2 separate regions of the Homo sapiens genome follow, and region 1 is linked to region 2. Evidence: promoter capture Hi-C in human tissues and cell types (Jung and others, 2019). All regions are on one chromosome and are shown on one strand. The core of a region is centred on a gene start or on the middle of the fragment in contact, and the rest is flanking DNA. Distances in the headings are between cores, read along the strand shown.

Region 1 (5,437 bases), core at 234-2,733, 36 kb after region 2:
AGCTATAGGCATTGCCCCCAGGAGCATCCAGAAGAGCAGGGATACGGCCATAAAGAGAGGTCAGTCCACTTATGGCTGGGACCAGAGGTCCAGAGGTCTGTGGCCTGTGACAAAGATCAGCCTGTATCCAGAAGGAAGGGGTCAGTCTGTGACCAGGCTCAGAGGTCTGCCTGACACTGGGACCAGTCTGTGCCAGAGTGACAAGGCTTGGGGCTGGGGGTCAGAGGTAGGTTTGTGGTTGTGCAGCAGACAGGGACCCACCTTGGTCAGCGCCTCGGCCACCTCGGCCTTCTCGGCCTGCAGCATGTCCCGTTGCAGTGTGGCGCGGCTCAGCGCCTCCCTCACCTCCACCAGCTCCTTGGCCAGGACTGAGCGCTTCCCTTCCAGCTGCTCTAGTTGTCTATGGCTGTGGGACAAAGGGTGGGTGGGTGGCCCATGTCACTTTCCTGCCCCGAACCTCCTGTAGCCAGCGAGATGCTGGGCTGGGGACCAGGCCTGAGGCAGGAGTTTGGAGAGAAACAGCCTGAGCCACAGGGCAACCAAGCCCACTACCGCTTAGCTCCATGACCCTGGGCCTCCGTTTTCACATCTGCAAAATGAGGTAACACTTACCTCGTGACATTGTTTGTTTTTTTGAGACACAGTCTTGCTCTGTCACACAGGCTGGAGTACAGTGGTGCGATCCTGGCTGACTGCAACCTCTGCCTCCCAGGTTCAAGCAATTCTCCTGCCTCAGCCTCCCGAGTAGCTGGGATTACAGGTGCTCACCACCACGCCTGACTAATTTTTGTAGTTTTAGTAGAGACGGGATTTCTCCACGTTGGTCAGGCTGGTCTGGAACTCCTGACCTCAGGCGATCTGCCTGCCTTGGCCTCTCAAAGTGCTGGGATTACAGGCGTGAGCCACTGCGCCCGGCCTGTTTTAAGGATACAAACTTCACATGTGCTTAAAATAGTGCCTGACACATCTCCCCAAGGACCTTCAGAAACAAGAATAACATGCTCCACCACAGTCTACTAAACATCATCATCGATCACGTCCCTGAGAGGTAAGCAGCGCAGTGGTGAAGAGGTTAACTCTGAAGGCAGAATGTCTGGGTTCAAATCCTGGCTCTTCTGCTAACTGTGTGACCTGGGGCAAGTGACATGGCTTCTCTGTGCCTCAGTTTACCATCCACAAAATGGAGATAACCGCTTCTATGTCACAGAGTTATCATGGAGTTAAATGAGAGAACTGAATTGCTTAAAATGGTATCTGGCACTTAGTGAAATTAGTAAGGATATTATTATTCTTCTAACTAAATTTTTAAAATACTACTGCTAATATTACTACTGTTATTTTAATTATTCTTGTTATTATCATCCAAGTTCTACCTTTTAACTAGTTCTCTGACTCCAGGTAAGTGACTATACCTCCCTGAGCCCCAGTTTCCTGAAATGGGTCTGGTTAGAAAACCCGACATCGGAGGGGTCCAGACGGTAGGAGGCCCAGGACCCAGTGGGTGTCACCTAACCCCAGGGGGGCACTGTCAGGGGACCCGAGGCACATCTGAAGGGTCCTGGCAGGGTGGCGAGATGCTGCTCACCTGCGCTCAAGCTCCCGGCGCACCCGCGCGCCATCCTGCACTGCGTCCTCCTGCTCTTCCTCCAGCCGGTCCCGCTGGCGCCGCAGCTCCTCCTGGGCAGCCTGCAGCTTCTCCCGCTCCTGCCGCAGCTCCTCGGCCTGCTGCTGGGCCACCTGCAGGCTGTGGGCCAGGTTGCTCTTCTCCCTTCAGGACAAGGGGAGGGGGAGCAGAGGGGATGCTGGGGCTGCTCTCTGCAGGGAAGGTGGCTGGCTGCTCCTCTAGCCATGAGCTACATCCTCCAGTCTTCCAAGGCACCTGCCTCCAGGAAGCCTTCCCTGACCACCCTGTCCATGGCTGACTCATTTCACTCACACACTCCAGCAGAAGAACCTGGCTTTCCTTCTCTCCAGTCCGCCCACTTGGAGTGGATGGAGGTGCTGGTGTGATCTCCAAGCACCCTACCAGGTAGAAGAGGCCGAGCTAGGCTCCTGGGACACACGGCAATTGTGCCACCAGCTCTGCTAGGCCATGTGACCAGGAAATGTCCCCTATAACACCCCATGCCCCTCAATTCTGGGAAGCCTGATAGAGCTGAGTCTGCAGATCCCACAGCTTCCTGCTACACAGGCACATGGTGGCCACGGCAGGGGAGGGAGGAGAAGGGAACAACTGGGACCCCAAAGACTTGCCATGAGCTGCCACGTTCCCCACTGGCCATAGGTGCGAAAAAACTTCACAGCGTGATTTTGTTTTATTTTTTTTTTTTGAGACGGAGTCTCGCTCTGTCCCCCAGGCTGGAGTGCAGTAGCGCAATCTCCACTCACTGCAAGCTCCGCCTCCCGGGTTCACGCCATTCTCCTGCCTCAGCCTCCCAAGTAGCTGGGAATACAGGCGCCCGCCACCATGTCCGGGTAATTTGTTGTATTTTTAGTAGAGATGGGGGTTTCACTGTGTTAGCCAGGATGGTCTCAATCTTCTGACCTCATGACCTGCCCGCCTCGGCCTCCCAAAGTGCTGGGATTACAGGCATGAGCCAATGCGCCCAGTAATTTTTTTTTTTTTTTAGACGGCATCTCACTCTGTCGCCCAGGCTGGAGTGCAGTGCACGATCTCGGCTTGCTGCAACCTCCACCTCCAGAGTTCAAGCGATTCTCCTGCCTCAGCCTCCCAAGTAGCTGGGATTACAGCCATGTGCCACCACGGATGGCTAATTTTGTATTTTTAGTAGAGACAGGGTTTCTCCATGTTGGTCAGGCTGGTCTCGAACTCCCGACCTCAGGTGGTCCTCCTGCCTCGGCCTCCCAAAGTGCTGGGATTACAGGAGTGAGCCACTGTGCCCGGCCAATTTTTTTTTATTTTTAGTAGAGATGGGGTTTCGCCATGTTGGCCAGGCTGGTCTCAAACTCCTGACCTCAAGTGATCCACCCGCCTTGGCCTCCCAAAATACTGGGATTACAGGTGTGAGCCACCTCGCTCAGTCGACAATGTGCTGTTAAGTAAAAATAGCAGAATGCAAAATGGGATGTTTGCTGTGAACACAACTGCTTAAAAAGACCTTCTCCTTTCCAGGCATGGAAAGCTTGGGTTTACTCTCACATGGACCTGAATTCCAGTTCCCACCCTGCCACCCCCAGCCACACACGCTGTATGAGTCTGAGCCAGTCTCTCAAGCTTACAACAACAGAGTTCCGAATTGCATGAGTTTGACAGGAAGACTAAATCACAGAGTACATACAAAACACTCGGCCAAGAGCCTGGCACACAGTAGGTGTGCAGGAAACGTTTGCTATCTCACTGCCAGGCAACACAATGGGAAGGAAAACCAGTGCCCTAAATGAATTAGGATGGGCAGATGAGGCTGTGAGAAGGCGCTGTCTTTTTATTCCTATTTTTCAAACTTTTCATTAGATGGTTACATTTATGAAGAGAAAAACCAAACAACAAAATATCAAAAACAACCTGGCAGCTAAGAAGTGGATAATTTCTTGTCTTAAAAATCTTCAGGGTGCCTGGCGTGATGGCTCACACCTATAATCCCAGTACTTTGGGAGGCCGAGACGGGCTCAGGAGTTAGAGATCAGCCTGGGCAACATGGCGAAACCCTATCTCTACAAAAAACAGAAAAATTAGGCAGGCGTGGTGGTGTGTGCCTGTAGTTCCAGCTACTCAGGAGGCTGAGATGGAAGGATCACTTAAGCCTAGGAGGTGGAGGTTGCAGTGAAATGAGATCGCACCACTGCACTCCAGACTGGGTGACATAACAAGACCCTGTCTCAAATTAAGAGAAAAAAAAAATCTTCAAGGCTAGGCATGGTGGCTTATGCCTCTAATCCCAGCATTTTTGGAGGCCGAGGCAGGGGAATCACTTGAGGCCAGGAGTTTGAGACCATCCTGGGCAACACAGCAAGACCCCATCTCTAAAAAAAACTCCAAGAAATACAGTCCAAAATAGTGCTGGCAATAGAACTCGCTGAGATGACAGAAATGTTCTATGGCCATGTATGGTTGATGAGTGCTTGAAATGTGGCTAGGGCAACTAAAGAACTGAATTTTTTCTTTTTTTTTTTTTTTTGAGACGGAGTCTTGCTCTGTCGCTCAGGCTGGAGTGCAGTGGCGCCATCTCGGCTCGCTGCCAGCTCCGCCTCCCGGGTTCAGGCCATTCTCCTGCCTCAGTCTTCCAAGTAGCTGGGACTATAGGTGCCTGCCACCACGCCCAGCTAATTTACTTTTTGTATTTTTAGTAGAGACGGGGTTTCACTGTGTTAGCCAGGATGGTCTCAATCTCCTGACCTCATGATCCGCCCGCCTTGGCCTTCCAAAGTGCTGAGATTACAGGTGTGAGCCACCGGGCCCAGCATTATTATTATTATTTTTTTTTTGAGATGGAGTCTCGCTCTATCTCCCAGCCTGGAGTGCAGTGGCACGATCCTGGCTCATTGCAACCTCTGCCTCCGGGGTTCAAGTGATTCTCCCACCTCAGCCTCCTGAATAGCTGGGATTACAGGAGCATGCCACCATGCCTGGTTAATTTTTGTATTTTTAGTAGAAACAGGGTTTCACCATGTTGGCCAGCAAGCTGGGTGTGAGCCACCACACCCAGCCTGAATTTTCACTTTTTAAAAATTTTAATTAAATTTTAATAGAGCCAGGCACAGTGGCTTATGCCTGTAATCCCAGCAATTTGGGAGGCTGAGGTGGGAGGAGTGATTGAAGCTAGGAGTTCAAGACCAGCATGGGCAACATAGTGAGACCCCCATCTCTACAAAAAATTTAGAAATGTTGGCGGCTTGTCTACTATCCTCGAGGCTGAGATCAGAGTTGCCCAGGAACCCAGGGAGGTGAGGGCTCAGAGGGTGGTGAGGGCACAGAGGAAGGGAGTGGAAACCTAACTCTCAGGCTTCGGTCCCATATCCTTCCCCAGGCCAGGCCCAGGCCCCCAACTAGGGGCAGTTGGGAGGTAGAGGTGGGAGGATCGCTTGAGTCTGGGAGTTCCAGGTTACAGTGAGCTGTGATGGACCAATTGTGCCCCAGCCTGGGAAACAGAGCAAGAGTGTGACTCAAAACAAAGCAAAACAAAACAAAACAAAACAAAACTGAATACTAAAAAATAAATGTTGGCCGGGCGCGGTGGCTCATGCCTGTAATCCCAGCACTTTGGGAGATGGACGCGGGTAGAACATGAGGTCAGGAGTTCAAGATCAGCCTGGCCAAGATGGTGAAACCCCGTCTCTACTAAAAATACAAAAAAAATTAGCCGGGCGTGGTGGTGGGCACCTATAATCCCAGCTACTTCAGAGGCTGAGGTGAGAATTGCTTAAACCCGGGAGGAGGAGGATGCAATGAGCCAAGATCGCGCCACTGCACTCCAGCCTG
Region 2 (6,222 bases), core at 786-3,285:
TCATGCCTATAATCCCAGCACTTTGGGAACCCAAGGCAGGCGGATCAGCTAAGGTCAGGAGCCTGGCCAACATGGTGAAACCCTGTCTCTACTCAAAAAAAAAAAGCAAAAATTAGCCTGGCATGCTGGCATGTGCCTGTAATCCCAGCTACCCGAGAGGCTGGGTTGGGAGAACCTCTTGAACCCGGGAGGTGGAGGTTACAGGGAGCCGAGGTCACACCACTGCACTCCAGCCTGGGCAACAGAGTTAAACTCCATTTCAAAAAAAAAAAAAAAATCAGCCATTGAAAAAATTAAAGTTAGTTTTATTGAGTCTTACTGAGGACTGCACCCTGGGAGAGGGTTTCAGAGAGTTTCTGTTAGACTGCGCCAAAGCAGCATTTCAGCCCACAGTTTAGATACAGAGGCAGGCGGTTCTGTGTGTGCTCAGAAGCTATGGTCAGGCACGGTGGCTCACGTCCGTAATCCCAGCACTTTTGGAGGCTGAGGCGGGTGGATTGCTTGAGCTCAGGAGTTTGAGACCAGACTGGGCAAACACGGCAAAACCCCTTCTCTACAAAAAATACAAAAAAAAAAAAAAAAAAAAAAAATTAGCCAGGCATGGCGGCTCTTGCCTGTAGTCCCAGCTACTTGGGAGGCTGAGGTGGAAGGATCACTTGAGCCCAAGAGGTGAGCTGTGATGGTGCCACTGCACTCCAGCCTGGATGACAGAGCGAGACCCGGTCTCATTAAAAAAAGAAGAAGAAAAATTTACATCAAATGTCTTCAGAAGCTACACTAGTGCAAATCTCGCCAAGGTTTGGGTTCGAGGATGCACCTAGTTATATAGATTATAGAGGCATAATCGTCAATCCTGTCAGGTGCTATCTTATGTACAGGAAAAGGCACAGCCAGGATCATTTAACTTATATTTTCTAACAATGCAGTGATTCAGGCAAGAGGCGTGGGAGCCTGTGTTCTGCCCTGCCTGCCATCTTCAAGGCATCCTTCCGTTGGGCTGCCCCCAGTCACTGAGTCAGGGCTTTGTCAGCTTCTGACAAGCAGAAAGAGCAAATGCGGTTTCTTGGGATTGCAACTTGGTCTCACAGTGGCTTAGGCCAGGGTGGGAGCAGTGAACGGAGTCACAAAAGAAATTTTTCAGGTAGCATTCACGGGTGGGTGCTGGATTAGATGCAGGGCTAAGGGCAGGGGAGGAAGCCTGGGTAATGGAAGGCTGCGGGGCCAAGGGGGGACTGGGAATCCTGGAGGGCCAGGTCTGGGGGAGAGTTAGGAGGTCGTGAATTTGGACTTGGATGCTTGTTGAAGCTGATGCATCTTGAGGACATTTGTGGGACACATAGGCTGGGTCAGGGCTGAAAGAGGTGCTGGTTATGGCCGGGGGCAGGGACTCATGCCTGTAATCCCAACAGCCCAGGAGGATGAGACAGGAGGAATGCTTGAGGCCAAAATTTCGAGGCCGGAAGTTCCAGACGAGCCTGGGCAACACAGCAAGACCCTGTCTCTAGAAAAGGAAAGAAAGAACCGCTGGTTGTGGAAGCCAGCCATGGCCCAGAGCTCAGCAGTGTAGGAGAGGAGGGTGCGGGCCTGAGAGAGGCAGCAGGCTTGGCTGGAGAGGCAGAAGGAAAACCAAGGCAGGAGAGTGTCCTGGAAGCTGGGAGAAGGCAGAGGGAGATCGAGGCTTACTTTCTGGCTGAGGGGCCTAGGGTGAGTCACTTTGGGAGGCTTGATTTCCTCCTCTGTGAAATGGGCAACACACCTACCCTTGCCCACCTCACCCCCCTCACCCCGTCGACGTCGAGTGAGGAGCAGCTGTGAGGAGGAGGAAGCTTTGCACAGACGTGAGGACGGCCCCGGGCGCCTCTACCCCGGGGACACCCCCCCCCCCAGGAGATGGAACCCCGAGGGCACGGCGTGGCGGCCCATGCGGGCAGCTCGCGTTAGGACCCAGCGGCTCCGGGGCTGGAGGGCGGGCGCCAGCCCCGTCGGGGGCCCGGAGGGGGACTCGGAGCGGGCCAAGGGGCGGCTCCGGCGGGCGGACTCGGAGCGGGCGGCGGAGTGACCCGGACAGGTAGGCGCGGGCCTGGCGCTTGGGGGCCCCGGGGGGCGGTCAGGGGCGTCGGCGGGTCCCCCGGCGCGGGGGCGAGGGTGCCAGGCTCTCTGGGTCCTCGATCCTGGGGCAGCCGCGGAGGTTCCTGAACCCCGCGCCTTCAGAGCGGAGGCCAAGGGGGCACCTGGAAAGTTTGGGGTTGCTCTGCAGAGAGAACGCGAATTGGGAAGGGCGGGGAGCCCGAGTTTGGGGGGAGCCAGAGGTGAGGTCGTCGGGGGATGGGACATCTTTTGTTCTCCCGGGGAGGTTGGAATGTGGCGGGTGGGGTGGGGGGGGGGGGTCCGGTGGGAATGGCCGAGACAGAGACGCAGAGAGACAAAGAGAGATCAGAGACGGGAGCGCGAGGGCGCGCGGAGCAAGTTTCCGCGGCTGATTGTTCCCAGCTGTGCGGCGCTGCAACATCTGGGTTTCTCCCGCCGGGACCCCTCCCCCTGAGCCCGGCTCTGGAGCCGGCAGAGCCCTCCCTCCGTCTGATGTCTGAGCGAGCGTCGGGGCCCCCTGTCCCCCACCTCCCAGGACGCAGGGGAGTCGGGGGTGGGGGAGGCCGCAGCTGTGGAAGAGGCCAGAGGTGGGGGTGGGGCAGCCTCCCAGGCAGGTCCTGGCCTCCCGCACGCCCCAAAACCCCTTCGTCTAGAAGAGCTCGGAGATGTGGTCCCGTGGGAGGAGTTCATGAACTCCACACTGACTTCTCTCTTTCCTGCCTCCCCGCTAGCCCGTGGGCCTCCTTCCCCCAATAAGCCTGGGTTCGGGGGCCAGTCCTAGGGGAGGAAGACTCCCCGCAGGGTACCGACAGGCATCCCCCAACACCTTGCAACCCCTCTTGCCCCAATTCAGCGCCTTCTGCTGAGCAGCGGGGGCTCCGACCGACCTGACGGATGGGGAGAAGGGCAAGGAAGGCTCTCTGGGTCTTTTCATCCCCCTCCCATGAGGAGGTCAAGGGTTTTCAGAATGGGGTGTGGGGAGCCAGCTATCCCTCGCCTCTGGGGCAGCTTGGTCCTGAGCTTCGTCTCCCGGCTCCCACTCCACCTTAGTGAGGTGCCTAATGCATGAGAGGAGCCAGGGGGTCAGGAGGCCTCAGGATTGAGAGGAAGGAGGGAAAGACCTCCTGCTTTCTCCCCTTTCCCTCCCCTCTCCCTGGACTCCCAGTGGGGAAAATAGACCAAAGTTGGGGTTTCCAGCTAGCTCTCTGAAAGGACTTCCTGGGTTGCAGCCGGGAGGGGCCCTCCTGGATGGACCCCGCCCTCGCAGCCCTCCCTACAGAAGGCTGACGGACCTGAGGTGGCCCTCCACTGAGCTGGGGCTGGATGTGGGGAACCGGAGGCTCCCCCAAGTCCCACCGTGTAGCCAGGACTGGAGGCTGGGCTCTTGAATGTCAGGAGCCTGATGAAAGCCACGGACCCCATGCCCTCTCCCTCCAAATGACACACACACTTGCCTACAGTGTCAGGGGGTGCAGAACCCCCAGCCTGGGTGATGTCACGGCCCCTTCAGTGCTGCCTTTCTGGGATCCAGAGGAGCCCCCTCAGGCTTCACTCTCGTGCTTCCTGCTGCTGCAAATAGCCCGGGTCTCGTGAGCCTGTGATGCACACAGCCAGGTCTTGCGAGGCCTGGAGGCCTGGCAGGAGAGGAGTCTTCTGGGAGCTGGGAGCCCTGCCCGGCCTGGCCGCTCTGGGGGCCGGGCAGGCCCATGTGTATGTGGTTTCCTGCTGAGCAGGATGCTTAGGGCCCAGGGGCTAATTGGGAGCAGGTGGTGGCTTGGCAGAAGCTGCTGAGTCCAGGCGGTGATGCCGGCTGGCCAGGGCTGGGGTCCCAAGGATGGGCCTGGGTTCAGTGATTCACGCAGTCAGTGCCTTGGACACCCAGGGAGCCACTGGGCCAGAGGGCTGAGCACGGGTGTGGGTGAGGACAGAATGGCCTGGGCTGGGAGCACATTAGGAATGTCCCCTTAGTGAGCAGGGCAGGGTCCGCCCTTCCCTGACCACATCAAGTACACCCACTACACGGGGTTTGCTTGTCAGGATCAGCCCTGGAGCTGGGTTGGAGGCCTTGTCCCTTGTGACCTGAACACCTGGGTGGGCCAGCAGGGACTGGGATGTCCCTCCACTCCAGCCCTCCCATGCCTGGCTTCTATTCTGGGTGCCACCTTCTCCAGGGCGAAATCAGGGGATCAAAGGTGAGCTCTGCTGTCCTGGGTGTGGCCCTGGGTAGAGCTCTCCCACCGGTCTTTCCCCAGCTGTCCTCTCTGACACCACCCCGGCCTGCCTCTTTGTTGCCATGAGAGCTGCCTACCTCTTCCTGCTATTCCTGCCTGGTAAGTGGCTCCTGGGGCAGGGGGTAGCTCCTCTTATGTGGGGCTGAGGAGTAGGGTTAGTAGGGGGAATTCATAGTGAGCCTTTGTCACGACTTATGACCAGAACTCAGCTCCCCAGCTCCCAGGGCCTTCTGCCTGCTTGGACCACAGACTGGACCAGCCAACCCTGGCAGCATCTGGAGGCAGCTCCTGGCCCTTCCCCCAGCCTTCCACAGCAGCAGGCAGGCAGGGTTCTGGAGGGCACGTCCCAGGCACAAGGACTCCGTGGGCACAAGGCACAAGGCCTCTCTGGGAGCCGATGTGCAGGTGCAGGGGCACCCAAGGCAGGGAGTCCGGATGCTTGAGTTCTAGATCCATTCAGGGCCCTTCTGCTCTATACAGTCCTGACCTTGTGGGGGTCCCTACTGGCCAAATGAAGAGAATCAATGAGGACCACAAAAGTCCTAGCAGGGCCAACATTCATTCATTCAGCAGCGATGTGTTGAGTCCCTACCACGTGCCAAGTGCTGGGCTAGGCCCTGGGGATTCAGCGATGAACCAGGCAGACACATCGTTGCTCCTCATCATGCTGCCAGTCCAGGGAAGGGAGACAAATAGGAAACAAGCAGACATGAGAAACTCCAGCATGTGCTGAGTGCTGGACAGAAATCAGCAGGAGGGCTGGTGGGCTGGAGGTGGGGCGGCATCTTGGCACAGCTGAAATTCCAGGGAAGACCTGAAGGAGCTGAGCAGGCCTCACAGGCCCAGGGAGTGTCAGGTGCAAAGGCTCTGAGGGAGGCAGGAGCATGTGGAGTCCTAGGAGCAGCCAGGAGGCCAGCAACAGGAAGGGGCAGGGTAAGGTCAGGGAGGTGACCCATGACCAGGGTGGGGAAGGGTCTTTACCATCGAAGAAGAGTCTGGATCCTCTAGGAATCTGCTTGTGGGGTCCTAGGCTCTTATGGGCCTGACCTTGTGACCCCCGCCTCCACTCTCCAGAAGCGCCTCGGGCCCCCGTTGCCCCTCCCGATGGGGTACCCTACATGCTTTGCCTCCCCACAGCAGGCTTGCTGGCTCAGGGCCAGTATGACCTGGACCCGCTGCCGCCGTTCCCTGACCACGTCCAGTACACCCACTATAGCGACCAGATCGGTAAGGGCCTTGCCGGGTCACCGAGGCCTGGCTGCTCAGATGTGCCTGGCTCAGCCAGGGACCGCACTGGACACGCTGATGGGAACTCTGGGGGTTGGTCCCTGGCTCAGGAGGGAACTTGTTTGCCCCAGGGGCTGGGGGATTAGCCTTACTCCCACCAATTCCACTTTCATCTTTGTTTGCAGACAACCCAGACTACTATGATTATCAAGGTAACGGGCTAGGGGTAGGATAGGACGGGCCGGCAGCTGGGGTGGGGAGACCCCCTGGGAGGGGTAGAGGGAGCAGACCCCCTTATCCTCCCCTGGCTGCAGAGGTGACTCCTCGGCCCTCCGAGGAACAGTTCCAGTTCCAGTCCCAGCAGCAAGTCCAACAGGAAGTCATCCCAGCCCCAACCCCAGGTAGGCCCCAGACCCTGCTCCCACCCGTCTCAGCTCCTGCCTCACCCCTCCCCACCCTGTCAACCCTGGGAGTGGGGGTCTGCCAGGGCTGGGAGAGGTGACTCCCCTTGCCCTGAGGAGACCCCTCCCAGTGATGTCTGCCTACCTCTGTCTCCACACCAGAACCAGGAAATGCAGAGCTGGAGCCCACAGAGCCTGGGCCTCTTGGTAAGGGCTTTCTTGACAGCTGGAAAAATGGAGGCACGCCCTGAAGTTGGGGTGGAGTAGGGGGTGGT

What was found. The method cuts DNA at HindIII sites, captures the fragments that hold promoters and counts their contacts. A contact is called where the count stands out against the background at its distance.
Region 1: a fragment that was not itself captured here is called in contact with the fragment with the promoter of MFAP2 in region 2 in 1 of the 25 tissues and cell types used here (mesenchymal stem cells).

Annotation. Positions count from the first base shown.
Region 1 is chr1:16,940,431-16,945,867 of GRCh38, reverse strand. CROCC (ciliary rootlet coiled-coil, rootletin) reads right to left here. Exons shown (of 37, transcript NM_014675.5): 14 at 1,586-1,768; 15 at 262-406. Among named protein-coding and RNA genes, the nearest start is that of CROCC, 21 kb to the right of the region's middle. The HindIII fragment of the contact is 8,412 bases long and covers 1-5,437 here.
Region 2 is chr1:16,976,433-16,982,654 of GRCh38, reverse strand. It overlaps MFAP2 (microfibril associated protein 2), which reads left to right and starts at 2,035. Exons shown (of 9, transcript NM_002403.4): 1 at 2,035-2,068; 2 at 4,341-4,418; 3 at 5,457-5,546; 4 at 5,732-5,758; 5 at 5,861-5,947; 6 at 6,110-6,154. The coding sequence starts at 4,382. It overlaps LOC105376806 (a long non-coding RNA gene), which reads right to left. Exons shown (of 2, transcript XR_947003.3): 1 at 6,093-6,222; 2 at 4,860-4,986. RefSeq lists enhancers at 2,754-3,259, 3,260-3,767, 3,768-4,273. The HindIII fragment of the contact is 9,522 bases long and covers 1-6,222 here.